Regions from separate parts of the Homo sapiens genome. Here regions 2 and 3 are each linked to region 1. Evidence: promoter capture Hi-C in 16 types of primary human blood cells and fetal thymus (Javierre and others, 2016). All regions are on one chromosome and are shown on one strand. The core of a region is centred on a gene start or on the middle of the fragment in contact, and the rest is flanking DNA. Distances in the headings are between cores, read along the strand shown.

Region 1 (3,811 bases), core at 1-2,500:
GGAGGTGCCTGCGCACCTGCTCTGGCCACAGCAGAGCATGGAGGTGCAGGCCTGGCGGAAGCGGGGGTCGAAAAAGGCATAGAGGAAGGGGTTGAGGCAGCTGTTGACGTAGCTGATGCAGGTGCAGTAGGGGAAGATGTTCATGAGGAAGAGGTCAAAGTCACAGGGCCAGTGCAGCAGGCTGCCCAGCATGTACAGCGTCTTCACCAGGTGGTAGGGCATCCAGCACAGGGCAAAGGTCACCACCAGCACCACGATGATGCTGAGCAGCCGGCGCCGCTTCCGCAGGCCCTCGATGCGTTCCTTGCGGAAGTGGCCAGCGATGGTTTGGGCGATGAAGAAGTAACAGGTCAGCATGATGGTGAAGGGCACCACAAAGCCCACGGTGGTGGACGAGACCCCAAGGCCCACCTCCCAGGCCCACTCTGAGCTCACAGTGGCCACCATGGAGTAGTCCATGTAGCACTGCACCTTAGTGGTGTTCTCCAAGTCCCCGGTGGTGCGTAACACCATGACAGGCATGGCCAGGAGGGCGGCCAGCACCCAAAGAACTGCCGTGGCCACGGCCCCGCTGACCCGCAGCCTCAGCCGAGCATTGGCCACTGGCCTCACGATGGCCAGGTAGCGGTCGAAGCTGAGGCCGGTGAGGCAGAAGACGCTGGCGTACATGTTGACGAAGATGAGGTAGCTGCTGAGCTTGCAGAAGAAGGTCCCAAAGGGCCAGTCATAGTCCCGGTACGTGTAGGTAGCCCACAGGGGCAGCGTCACCACGAAGGTCAGGTCAGCCACCGCCAGGCTAGCAATGAAGATATCAGCTGAGCGCCTCTTCTCCCGGCTGCTCCGAAACACGGTCCAGAGCACCAGACCGTTGCCCGTGGTGCCCAGGAGGAAGACCAACATGTAGATGGCAGGGATGAGGGCCCCCGAGGATTTCCAGTCTGTGTACTCACACTCAGACTGGTTGTCTGCCCCATAGTAGTTGTCAAAATCACCACCTTCCTCCATGCTGGGGAGTGGAGAGAAGACGGGCAGAGGGTCCCAGGGACACCAGCTCCGTGGCTCTGTCACCCACTCTGCAAGCAGCCTGAATTTCTGGCTTGAGCCTCAGAGAGTAAGAAGGGCTGAAGATGCCCAGAGTCCTTCCCAGCACTCAGGAGGAGCTGCCTCTGGGTTCTCCAGACCCTGGAGGAAGCCTGTCTCCTGCAGAATTTCCTCCACCCTCTCTTGCCTTACCCCCGTCTCAGTTAAGACACTTCCTTGCACCCTCCTGCGTCCCTGTCTCCTCCTTGACTCGTCACTCCCTCCTCCCACCTCCAGACCAGCCCCTCTCTTGTGAGTCAAAATCTTTAGTGACAGCCCACTTTTTTTTTCTTTTTGTCACTGAGCAAGTGGACCAAATTGACCCCTACTGTGCTGGGCTGAACATTATCTGTGGTTTTGCAAGTCGGCTTTCCTGGCCCCGCCTCTCCTTTCTGGCTGCCACCCACCTTCACCCCAGCCCCTATCCCTCCACTTTCCTCTGGCCACCACTTCCTGCCTGCCCTTTAGGGCACTCCCTCCTCAGTGCTCTCCGCCCTCCTGTTCTCACCCCCTTCCATCCAATCTAAATGGGACACATTATGCAGATTGCAATCCAGCTTGAGCTGGAGCCAGGGCTGGTAGGGAGCAAGGAGGGTGTAAGATTTCGCAGGATGGGCAGGGCATCTGGCAGGTCCTCCTGGCAGGCAGGTCTGGCCCCCTCGGCTCCCTTCCTGCACCCCCAGCCCCCACCCAGACCAGGTGTCACAGGAGGGTCTTCTCCCACTTTGCCTCTCGCTTCATCTTTCTCTACCCCTTGGCTTTGACCCTCCCTCTGAGAACTTTTGTGGTTTCTAGAGAAATACCCCTACACTAGTGTAGACTGCAGTTTGCAGTTTGCGGAAGGCACAGGATGCTTTAGAAGGTTGAGGGCAGTCACAGGATGGAAGAAACCCAGGACAAAATTATCTCTAAACAAGTCATTAAATCTGTAGGAAACAAAGGCCCAACAAGGTCAATGTTTTGCCCAAGGTAATAAAGTGAATTATGCTACAGTTGATTGTTTGCTTTTCTTCTTCTCCAAACACGAACATAATACAGTACCTGGCATGTCGTAGGTGAATGGCTGTTTTGTTTGTTTGTTTGTTTGTTGAGACAGAGTTTCACTCTTGTTGCCCAGGCTGGTCTAGGCTCACTGCAACTTCTGCCTCCTGGGTTCAAGCGATTCTCCCGCCTCAGCCTCCCTAGTAGCTGGGATTGCAGGCTAATTTTTTTGTATTTTTAGTAGAGATGGGGATTGACCAGGCTAGTCTCAAACTCCTGACCTCAGATGATCCACCCACCTCGGCCTCCCAAAGTGCTGAAATTACAGGCATGAGCCACCACGCCCAGCCAGGTGAATGGCTGTTGAGTGAGTAAGTGGATGGATGATGTAGGAGGTGAGTGAAAAGGGGAATCCATAGATGGAAGAACAAGTGTAAGAATTACTACGTGGTGAGAACATGGATACATTTCAGTTCTCAGGTTTTTACTATCCTCCATGGACCAAGAGGTTTCTGTAAGACCACAGGGGGTCAGGAAGTTGAGCTAGAGGAGGGGGGTCTCTAGAGAAAGACTCAGTCACTGGAGGATACTGTGGGGAAAGTTCCGTAGACGCTCACTTTGCCCCAGCTCATCACCTCTCCAGGACCTCTAGGAAGGAAGGAAGATGCACGACGTAAGATTTTTTTTAAAAAATACGCACCCTTTCCACAACCTTGAAGAGTTGGGGAAGCCACCTGACGTTGGGTAATAGTGAGATGGAACAAAAGCAGGAGCTGAGCCTTAGCCACTTCCAAGGCAAAAGACTTACAAAAGCTGGAATTGGCCAGGCAAGGTGGCTCATGCCTATAATCCCAGCACTTTGGGAGGCCAAGGCAGGAAGACTGCTTGAGCCCAGGAGTTCAAGACTAGCCTGAATAACACAGCCAAGACCCTGTCTCACGATATATATTTGTCTTAAGTTACTACAAAAGCTGGAATCCATTTTCTGGAGGGAGAGTGGATCAGAAAATCATATGCAGAGATCAAGGAACTCAAACTCAAATACCTGCAAAAAAAAAAAAAAAAAACAGGCCAAGAGTGTAGTTTGAGACAACAGAGAATGGTAAAGACTGTGGCAAACTGGAGGGTGCCCATTCCATCATAGGGAGGCCTCTTCAGCTCTAGTCTCTGGTTGCCACGCAGAAAGCTGGACCCCAGCATGACTGTGTCTTAGGATTTTTCCAAGATAATTTCAAATTATGGATTTTTGTAAGAAATTTTCATATTTGTAAATTTTGGAAATCAATTTTCATTTCAAAAAAAAGCACAGACCATGATAAGTAAAACATGTCTTTGGCCCCCGAGTTTGTGTTCTTTAAACAGGAGCTTGCCAAGAATAGAAGGCAGGAGAAGAACCAAGAGGATGGGGCAGGAGGAGGAAACAAAAAATGCAAAGATAGAAAAAGCCTTAGAGTGCAGTGGGGAGATACAGGAGAGAAGGCTGCAGAGAGAGATTAGAAAGATCCTGTGACCTTCACCTAAATGCAATGTGGAGTAATGAATATGTTGGTGTTTCTCATGAGGACTACATGTTGCCCACTTATTGTGTGCCAGGCAGTCTTCTAAACATTTTATACATTCTACATATATTTATTAGTATCTCTTTTAATCATCAAAATGACATTAGGAGGCAGGTGCTCTCATTAGCCTCAATTTACAGATGAGGAAACTGAGGCACACAGAGGTGAAGCAGTTTAGCCAAGATCACCCA
Region 2 (3,811 bases), core at 694-3,193, 130 kb before region 1:
TCTGGCGCAAGGCCTAAAACTTTGTATTTCTAACAAGTTCCCAGGTAATGCTATTACTGCTTGTCAGGGACCATACTTTGAGAACACCGGCATACTGCAATTTTGCCCCACGATGTGGCTAATGTTTTTTTTTTAATATAAAACAAAAATCAGAGAGTTACTTCTCTGTTAATAATCTTGGACAGATCCAGAGATCTGTAATCTTCAGGATTGGGCTGACCCTGGTCAGTCTTTCCAGCATCCTTTCCCCTCCTTCCTGAACTCCCTGTGCTGGGCTATTCACACAGTACCCTGGCTGTGCCAGGTTTTCCTGGCTTCCCCTGATGTCTTTGTGCCAGGTTCTCCTGGCGTCCCCTGATGTCTTTGCACATGCTGTGACCTCCTTCTGGAAGGTCCTCCTTCTACCATGTTCAGCAGAGTCCAAGTTATCATTTATCAGCTTTGGTATCACTCCCTTTATGGGACCTTTCCTGGCGCTAGGCAGAATTGGGTCTCCCTCTTCTATCTCCCAATAGTGTGTTAGCACTTAGCGGAGTTTCCTAATAACTGTTTTCTTGTCAATCTTCCTCATTATATTTGGACCTCCTTTAGGAGAGGGCTTTTTAAATTATTCTTAATTTATTTCCTTTACTTTGCTCCTAACTGAATGGTAAAGATCTCTAGAGACTTTTTTTTTACTTGCAGGAACACTGTTAGTTGTCCCAATAGTTGGTGGGAGACTACTAGTATTTAGGGAGCAGAGATTACTAAAGCCACAGCATGGTATCTCACAGGCAAGAATAGTCAACATCAACCATGATTTTCAAATATCCCATCGGATATCATGTAAGTGGAAACCTTGTTTATGATTAACTGAACATAGAACCTAACTCTGTGTTACAAAAAAACAAAGTATTTTTGCACAATTTGAACATACAATGGGTTACCTGAATTGCAACTACCACATAAATGGAGGAAAGGTCAGACTTTGTTTTGCTGGGAAATTTAACCAGAAACTTTTACCATTTGGAGAAATCACATAACCAAAAGCAACACTCTCATTGTAGTTGAGTCTTTAACACATGGAAATCATCATGTCAATCTGCATTTGTAGCTGATACATTCGTGATAACATGCAGATGCAAACATCTAACTACAACAGCAGCTGCACTTAGCATTTAAATGTTACTTATTTTTTAAGTTATTTTCCTTTTACTTTTACTTTTCTTTAGAGTTAGAATGATATATTATCTCTTAAAAGTACATTTGCAGGTATGTTATGCTATCTGTAAATTTTATTTCAAGACAGTAGTTAATTATAAATTGTTATGGAGGGAGTCGGTATACAAAGCTGTCACTATCATTCCATAAAATAAAATCCAGATTCCCTGACATGGCATTTGAAATCTTTTACAATTTTGTTCTAGAGCATTTTTCCAATCTCCATTCCAACCTTCTCCCACCTTCCCTTCTCCAGCCACACAGAGTTTCCACCTTCTCTTGTGCACACCATGTTCTCACTCTTTGCACATCTGGACTTCCTCAATCTGGAGTTTTCTTGTCCCCTTCTATTGACTTCCCACTGGGTTTTTTTAAAGCCCTGCTCAACATAATTGCTAGTTTGCCTGCCTTCCTCTCACATCAGTCTATAGTCTCCTCAAGGATAGTATGTTGGCTGAAAGCTTTGGCTTTGATGTAAGCCAACTGGGTTCAAATCCACCTCTGAAACACTCTAGTTGGGTGATCTTGACTTTGGGCAAGCTAACTAACCTTGCTAAAACTCAGTATTTTCTTTTACAGAATAAAGGCAATAATACTTACCTCTCAAGGAGTTTGAAAGAATTAAATGAAATACTGCCTCTACAGCACCTAGCAGAGTACCTATCCCTTAGTAAATGCTCAATAAGTAGTAATTATTGCCATAGTTATTATTCATTCCTTACATTTATCATATTACATAAAACATAGTGGATGGGCAATAAATGCTTGATGAATACATTCATTTGATTCTAATATATACTACTCATCTGAAAAAAAACCATTGGAGACATACCTAACCTCAGAGAAAGTCGTTGAGTGTGATATTGGAGCAGAGTGTTTTCCTGAAGTCTCTTCAGTAACATCATGTGGACAATTATTCCAACCAAGCTCAACCTGTGCCTCTTGACAATTTATAATTAATCCGGATGACCCAGATCCCAGATGAAGGGAAATAGTCAGAAAAATAGAGATAGTTGCTCTTTTATGCAAGCTTATGTTCCAGAATATAGATAATCCCTTTAAACAGGAATTTTTAGACTGTGTAGGAAGACATGCCTCATACTTTGCTCCAATTTAAAACAAGCACTGGGATTGGAGTGGAGCCAAGGACTCTGACATTAATGGAGGAAGAAATGAGCAGGCTCATTTCCCTGTAGAAATAGACAGAGGGAGAAGTCGATGTTCTTTACACTGATAACAACCCAAAAGGAGAATTGAGAAAGGAGAGTGCATTCAATCACAAAAACAGCCAGAGAGATGTCCCTATCCCCATGCCCACTAGCAATTACCAGGGCAAGATTGGTTCTGTTTCTGTACCCCTATAGTTCTGCAATAGAACTGAAGTATGTATTTGGATTACAAGTTTTTTCACTCAATTACCTGTAACTGCCAACTGAAATTTGGTGTTATTTAAATAACTTTTGTGTTATTTTGACCTAGAATTACAGAAACTTAAAAAGGTCAAATTTTATAGTTAAAAGAGTCGTGAGGGATCATTTCTTTCTGTTACTGTCTTTATGTTTAAATGTCATCTAAGCAACATTTTCTACAGTAACCACTACAAGTTTATTAAGAATGGATTTTGGGGGAAACCCATTTGGAAACTGATTAATTTTTCAGATGTCCTATCTCAGCACTTCAGTTGATTGACAACACATAGTGCAGTTGTCAAGCTACGTTAGACCAAAAGACCTCATGCAGGCAGTTTTGGTTTTCTATTAAAATGTAATTTATAATAGGTATTATTTAGCTGTGCTTTTTATTTGCAAGGTATAAAGCATTACAGTTGACCCTTGAACAATACAGGTTTGAATTGCCCCAGTCCACTTGTAAGCAGACTTTTTCCAATAAAATTTATACTTAATGTGCCTGCCTCTCCTGCCTCCCCTTCCCCTTTCTCCACCTCTTCTGCCTCCTCCGAAACAGCAAGATCAACCCTTTCTCTTCCTCCTCCTCAGCCTACTCAACATGAAGACAATGAGGATGAAGAACTCTATGATAATCCACTTCCACAATGAATAGTAAATATATTTTCTCTGCCTTATGATTTTCCTAATAATATTTTCTTTTCTCTGGCTTACTTTATTGTAAGAATACAGTATATAATACATATAACATCCAAAATATGTGTTAATCAATTGTTTGTTACCAGTAAGTCTTCCTGTCAACAGTTGGCTATTAGTAGTTACATTTTTAGGGGTTTAAATTCATAAGCATATTTTTGCCTAAACAGGGGTCAGCATTCCTAACCCTCACATTGTTCAAGAGTCGACTGTATTTTGTGGCCAGGTTCTGTGGTTCACGCCTGCAATCCCAGCACTTTGGGAGGCCAAGACGGGTGGATCACTTGAGGTCAGGAGTTCAAGACCATCCTGGCCAACATGGTGAAACCCTGTCTCTATTAAAAATACAAAAGTCAGCCAGGCATGGTGGTGCATGCCTGTAGTCTCAGCTACTTGGAAGGCTGAGGCAGGAGAATCGCTTGAACCTGTAAGGCACAGGTTCAGTGAGCCAAGGTTGTGCCACTACACTCCAGCCTGGGTGACAGAGCAGGACTCTGTTTCAAAAAAAA
Region 3 (3,811 bases), core at 886-3,385, 100 kb before region 1:
AGAGGGAATGGACCCAGATAACACAAGTGCGAGAAAAGGGAGGGGCATTTTCTACAACCAATTTATCAAAACGTGCTTTAATATAAGAGGTCTCCCTCTAGGACATACCTTTAATCCATGAATCCAGTCCTTTCAATCTTATAACAGGCCCTTGACAAGCAAAACTCCATGAAAGTTCTCAGTCCTTGATCATTTCCTTGGACTAGTGCTTAATATCCACTGTGGCCTAGCCCCAGCCTGCTTTCCTCCACATGCTGGTACTCACGCCAGTCTCTCTTCCCCATCCAGGCTCTCGTCTGTGCCTCTGTCCACACTGTTCCCTCCACCTGGAACAGCCTCTTTCAAAAGACCTCTCCCCTATTTCTGATCTAACTCAAATGTCGCCAACACCATGAAGCCGTTCCTGACCTACTTTCCACGAAGACAGAACTAAGCTCACTCGCTCTCTGTCTTTCTCGGCCACTTGCTACCATCTACCTTATGTGTCAGTGATTTGTATACATGGGCAGAAACTCTACCTCAGTGTTGCCATAGAGTATTCAGGATGTGAGCCCTGTTCACAATAACTACTCAATGCATGTACAAAATAAGAGGTTAAATTCTGTCTGAGGAATGGCCAGAGATGTCCCTGATTCTCGAGGGAGCTTCAGTTTTCCAATCTAGAGAACTTTAAGAAAAAGGGATAGATCAACTGGGAACTGGTTAACTAAATCATAGTATACAGGCATACCTCATTTTATTTCACTTTGCTTTATTGTACCTCATAGATATCACATTTTTAAGAATTAAAGATTTGTGACAGTTAGTCAAGTTGTGAATGCAAAAGAAAAGTTCTTAGCCAGACATGGTGGTCCATGCCTGTAGTCCTAGCAACTTGGGAGGCTGAAGCAAGAGGATCTCTTGAGCCCAGGAGTTTGAGGCTGCCATGAGTTATAATCACACCACTGCACTCCAGCCTGGGCAACAGAATGAGACCCCATGTCTAAAAAAGAAAAGGAAAAAAAAAAGTTCTCAGAAGAAATTAAAAGTTGCTTCCTGATCAGGATAGTGGTTGCTAAAGGTTGGGGTGGCTGTGGCAATTTCTTAAAATAAGACAACAATGACTGGGCACAGTGCCTCAGGCCTGTAATCCCAGCACTTTGGGAGGCTGAGGTGGGTGGATCACGAGGTCAGGAGCTCGAGACCAGCCTGACCAACATAGTGAAACGCTCTGTCTACTAAAAATACAAAAATTAGCTGGGCATGGTGGCACGCACCTGTAATCCCAGCTACTCAGGAGGCTGAGACAGGATAATCACTTGAACCCAGGAGGCGGAGGTTGCAGTGAGCCGAGATTACACCACTGTACTCCAGCCTGGGTGACAGAGCAATACTCCATCTCAAAAAAAAAAAGACAACAATGGAGTTTCCCATATCAATTATATCAATTGACTTTCGTTTTCACAAAGATTTCTCTGTAGTATGGGATGCTGTTTGATAGCATTTTACCCGCAGTCAAACTTCTTTCAAAATTGGAGTCAATCCTCTAAAAATCTGCCACTGCTTTAATAACTAAGCTTATGTAATATTTCAATCCTTTGTGATCATTTCAACAATGTTCACAGCATCTTCACCAAGAGTATATTCCAACTCAAAAACTCACTTTTTTGGCCAGGCGAGATGGCTCGTGCCTGTAATCCTAATACTCTGGGAGGCCAAGATGGGCAGATCACCTGAGGTCAGGAGTTTGAGACCAGCCTGGCCAACATGTGAAACCCCATCTCTACTGAAAATACAAAAATTAGCCGGGCTTGGTGGTGGTGCATGCCTGTAGTCCCAGCTACTCAGGAGGCTGAGGCAGGAGAATTGCTTGAACCCAGGAAGCAGAGGTTGCAGTGAGCTGAGATCACACCACTGCACTCCAGCCTGGATGACAGAGCATGACACTGTCTCAAAGAAAAAAAAAAAAAAAAACTCACTTTTTTATTCTTCTGAAAGAAGCAACTCTTCATCCATTCAAATATTATCATAAGATTGCAGCAATTCAGTCACATCTTCAGGCTCCACTTTCACTTCTAGTTCTCTTACTATTTCCACCAAATCTGCAGTTGTTTCCTCCACTAACATCTTGAACCCCTCGAAGGAAACTATGACAGTTGGAATCAGCTTCTTCCAAATTACGGCTAATGTTGATATTTTGATCTCCTCTCATGAATATGAATATTTTTAATGCCATCTGGAAGGATGAATCTTTTTAGAAGGTTTTCAATTTACTTTGCCCAGACCCGCCAGGGGAATCACTATGAATGGCTGCTATAGCCATACATAATATATGTCTTAAATAATAAGCCTTGAGAGTCAAAATTACCCCTGGATTCATGCACTGCACAGTGAACATTGTGTTACTGGGCTTGAAAACAAGATTAATTGCCCTGTACATTTCCATTAGAGCTCTTGAGTGTCTAGGTGTATTGTCAGTGAGCAGTAATATTTTGAAAGGAGTCTTTATTCTGAGCAATAGGTCTCAACAGTATGACTAAGATATCTAATAAACCATGCTATAGACAGATGTGCTGTCATCTAGGCTTTGCAGTTTCATTTATGTACAGCACAAGCAGAGTTGGTTTAGCATATTTCTTAAGGGCCTTAGGATTTTTAGAATAGTAAATGAGCACTGGCTTCAACTTAAAATCACCAGCTGCAGTAGCCACTAACAGCAGAGTCCACCTGTTCTTTGAAGCTTTGTAGCCAGCCGTTGACTTCTCCTCTATAACTATAAAAGTCCTAAATAGCATCTCTTCCATTAAAAGGCTGTTTGATCTACATGGAAAATTTGTAAATTTAGTGTAGCCACCTTCATCAATTATCTTATCTAGATTTTTTAATAATTTGCTGTAGCTTCTGTATCAGCATTTGCTACTTCACAGTGTATTTTTATGTTACGGAGATAACTTCTTTCCTTAAACCTATGAACAAATCTCTGCTAACTTCAAACTTTTCTTCTGCAGTTTCCTCACCTCTCTCAGCTTTCACAGAATGGAAGAGACTTGCTCTGGATTAGGCTTTGGCTTGAGGTAGTATTGTGTGGCTAGTTTGATCTTCTATCCAGACCACAAAAACTTCCTCCACATCAGTAATAAGGCTGTTTTGCTTCCTTATGATTCGTGTGGTCACTGGAATAGCACTTTTAACTTCCTTCAAGGACTTTTTTTTTTTTTTTTTTTTTGCATTCACAACTTGGCCAACTGTTTGGTATGACAGGCCTAGCTTTCAGCATATCTCAGCTTTTGACATTAGTGAAAGCTTTGGACATTCATGAAAGACATTAGTGAGCCTTGCTCACTAAGCTTAATCATTTCTACCTTTGATATAGAGTAAGAGACGTACAACTCTTCCTTTCACTTGAACACTTAGAGGCCCTTGCAGGGTTACTAATTGGCCTCATTTCAACTTTGTTGTGTCTCAGGGACTAGGGAGGTCCAAGGAGAGGAAGAGAGATGTTGAATGGCCAGTCAGTGGTGTAATCAAAACACTCACGACTTGTATGGATTAGTGTTGTATACGGGCATGGTTTGTGGTGCTCCAAAACAATTACAGTAATAACATCAATGATCACTGATCACAGATCACCGTAACAGATAAACAATAACGAAAAAGTTTGAAATATTGAATTACCAAAATTTGACAGAGACACACAGTAAACACATGCTGTTGAGAAAATGCCACCAATAGACTCGCTTGATGCAGGGTTACCACAATCCTTCTATTTGTAATGAAAACACAATATCTGAGAGGCATAATAAAGCGAAGCGCAATGAAAGAAGGTATACTT

Evidence for each region. The method cuts DNA at HindIII sites, captures the fragments that hold promoters and counts their contacts. A CHiCAGO score of 5 or more calls a contact.
Region 2: a contact is called between a fragment that was not itself captured here and the fragment with the promoter of APLNR in region 1, in 4 of 17 cell types (M0 macrophages, M2 macrophages, M1 macrophages and 1 more). The highest score is 8.6, in M0 macrophages.
Region 3: a contact is called between a fragment that was not itself captured here and the fragment with the promoter of APLNR in region 1, in 3 of 17 cell types (endothelial precursors, M0 macrophages and M2 macrophages). The highest score is 7.4, in endothelial precursors.

Annotation. Positions count from the first base shown.
Region 1 is chr11:57,236,000-57,239,810 of GRCh38, forward strand. It overlaps APLNR (apelin receptor), which reads right to left and starts at 1,251. Exons shown (of 1, transcript NM_005161.6): 1 at 1-1,251. The coding sequence starts at 1,005. RefSeq lists an enhancer at 893-1,525. The HindIII fragment of the contact is 5,179 bases long and covers 1-3,811 here.
Region 2 is chr11:57,109,502-57,113,312 of GRCh38, forward strand. All of the region lies in intron 6 of LOC105369309 (a long non-coding RNA gene), which reads right to left. Among named protein-coding and RNA genes, the nearest start is that of LRRC55, 71 kb to the right of the region's middle. The HindIII fragment of the contact is 569 bases long and covers 1,660-2,228 here.
Region 3 is chr11:57,131,338-57,135,148 of GRCh38, forward strand. All of the region lies in intron 6 of LOC105369309 (a long non-coding RNA gene), which reads right to left. Among named protein-coding and RNA genes, the nearest start is that of LRRC55, 49 kb to the right of the region's middle. The HindIII fragment of the contact is 1,163 bases long and covers 1,555-2,717 here.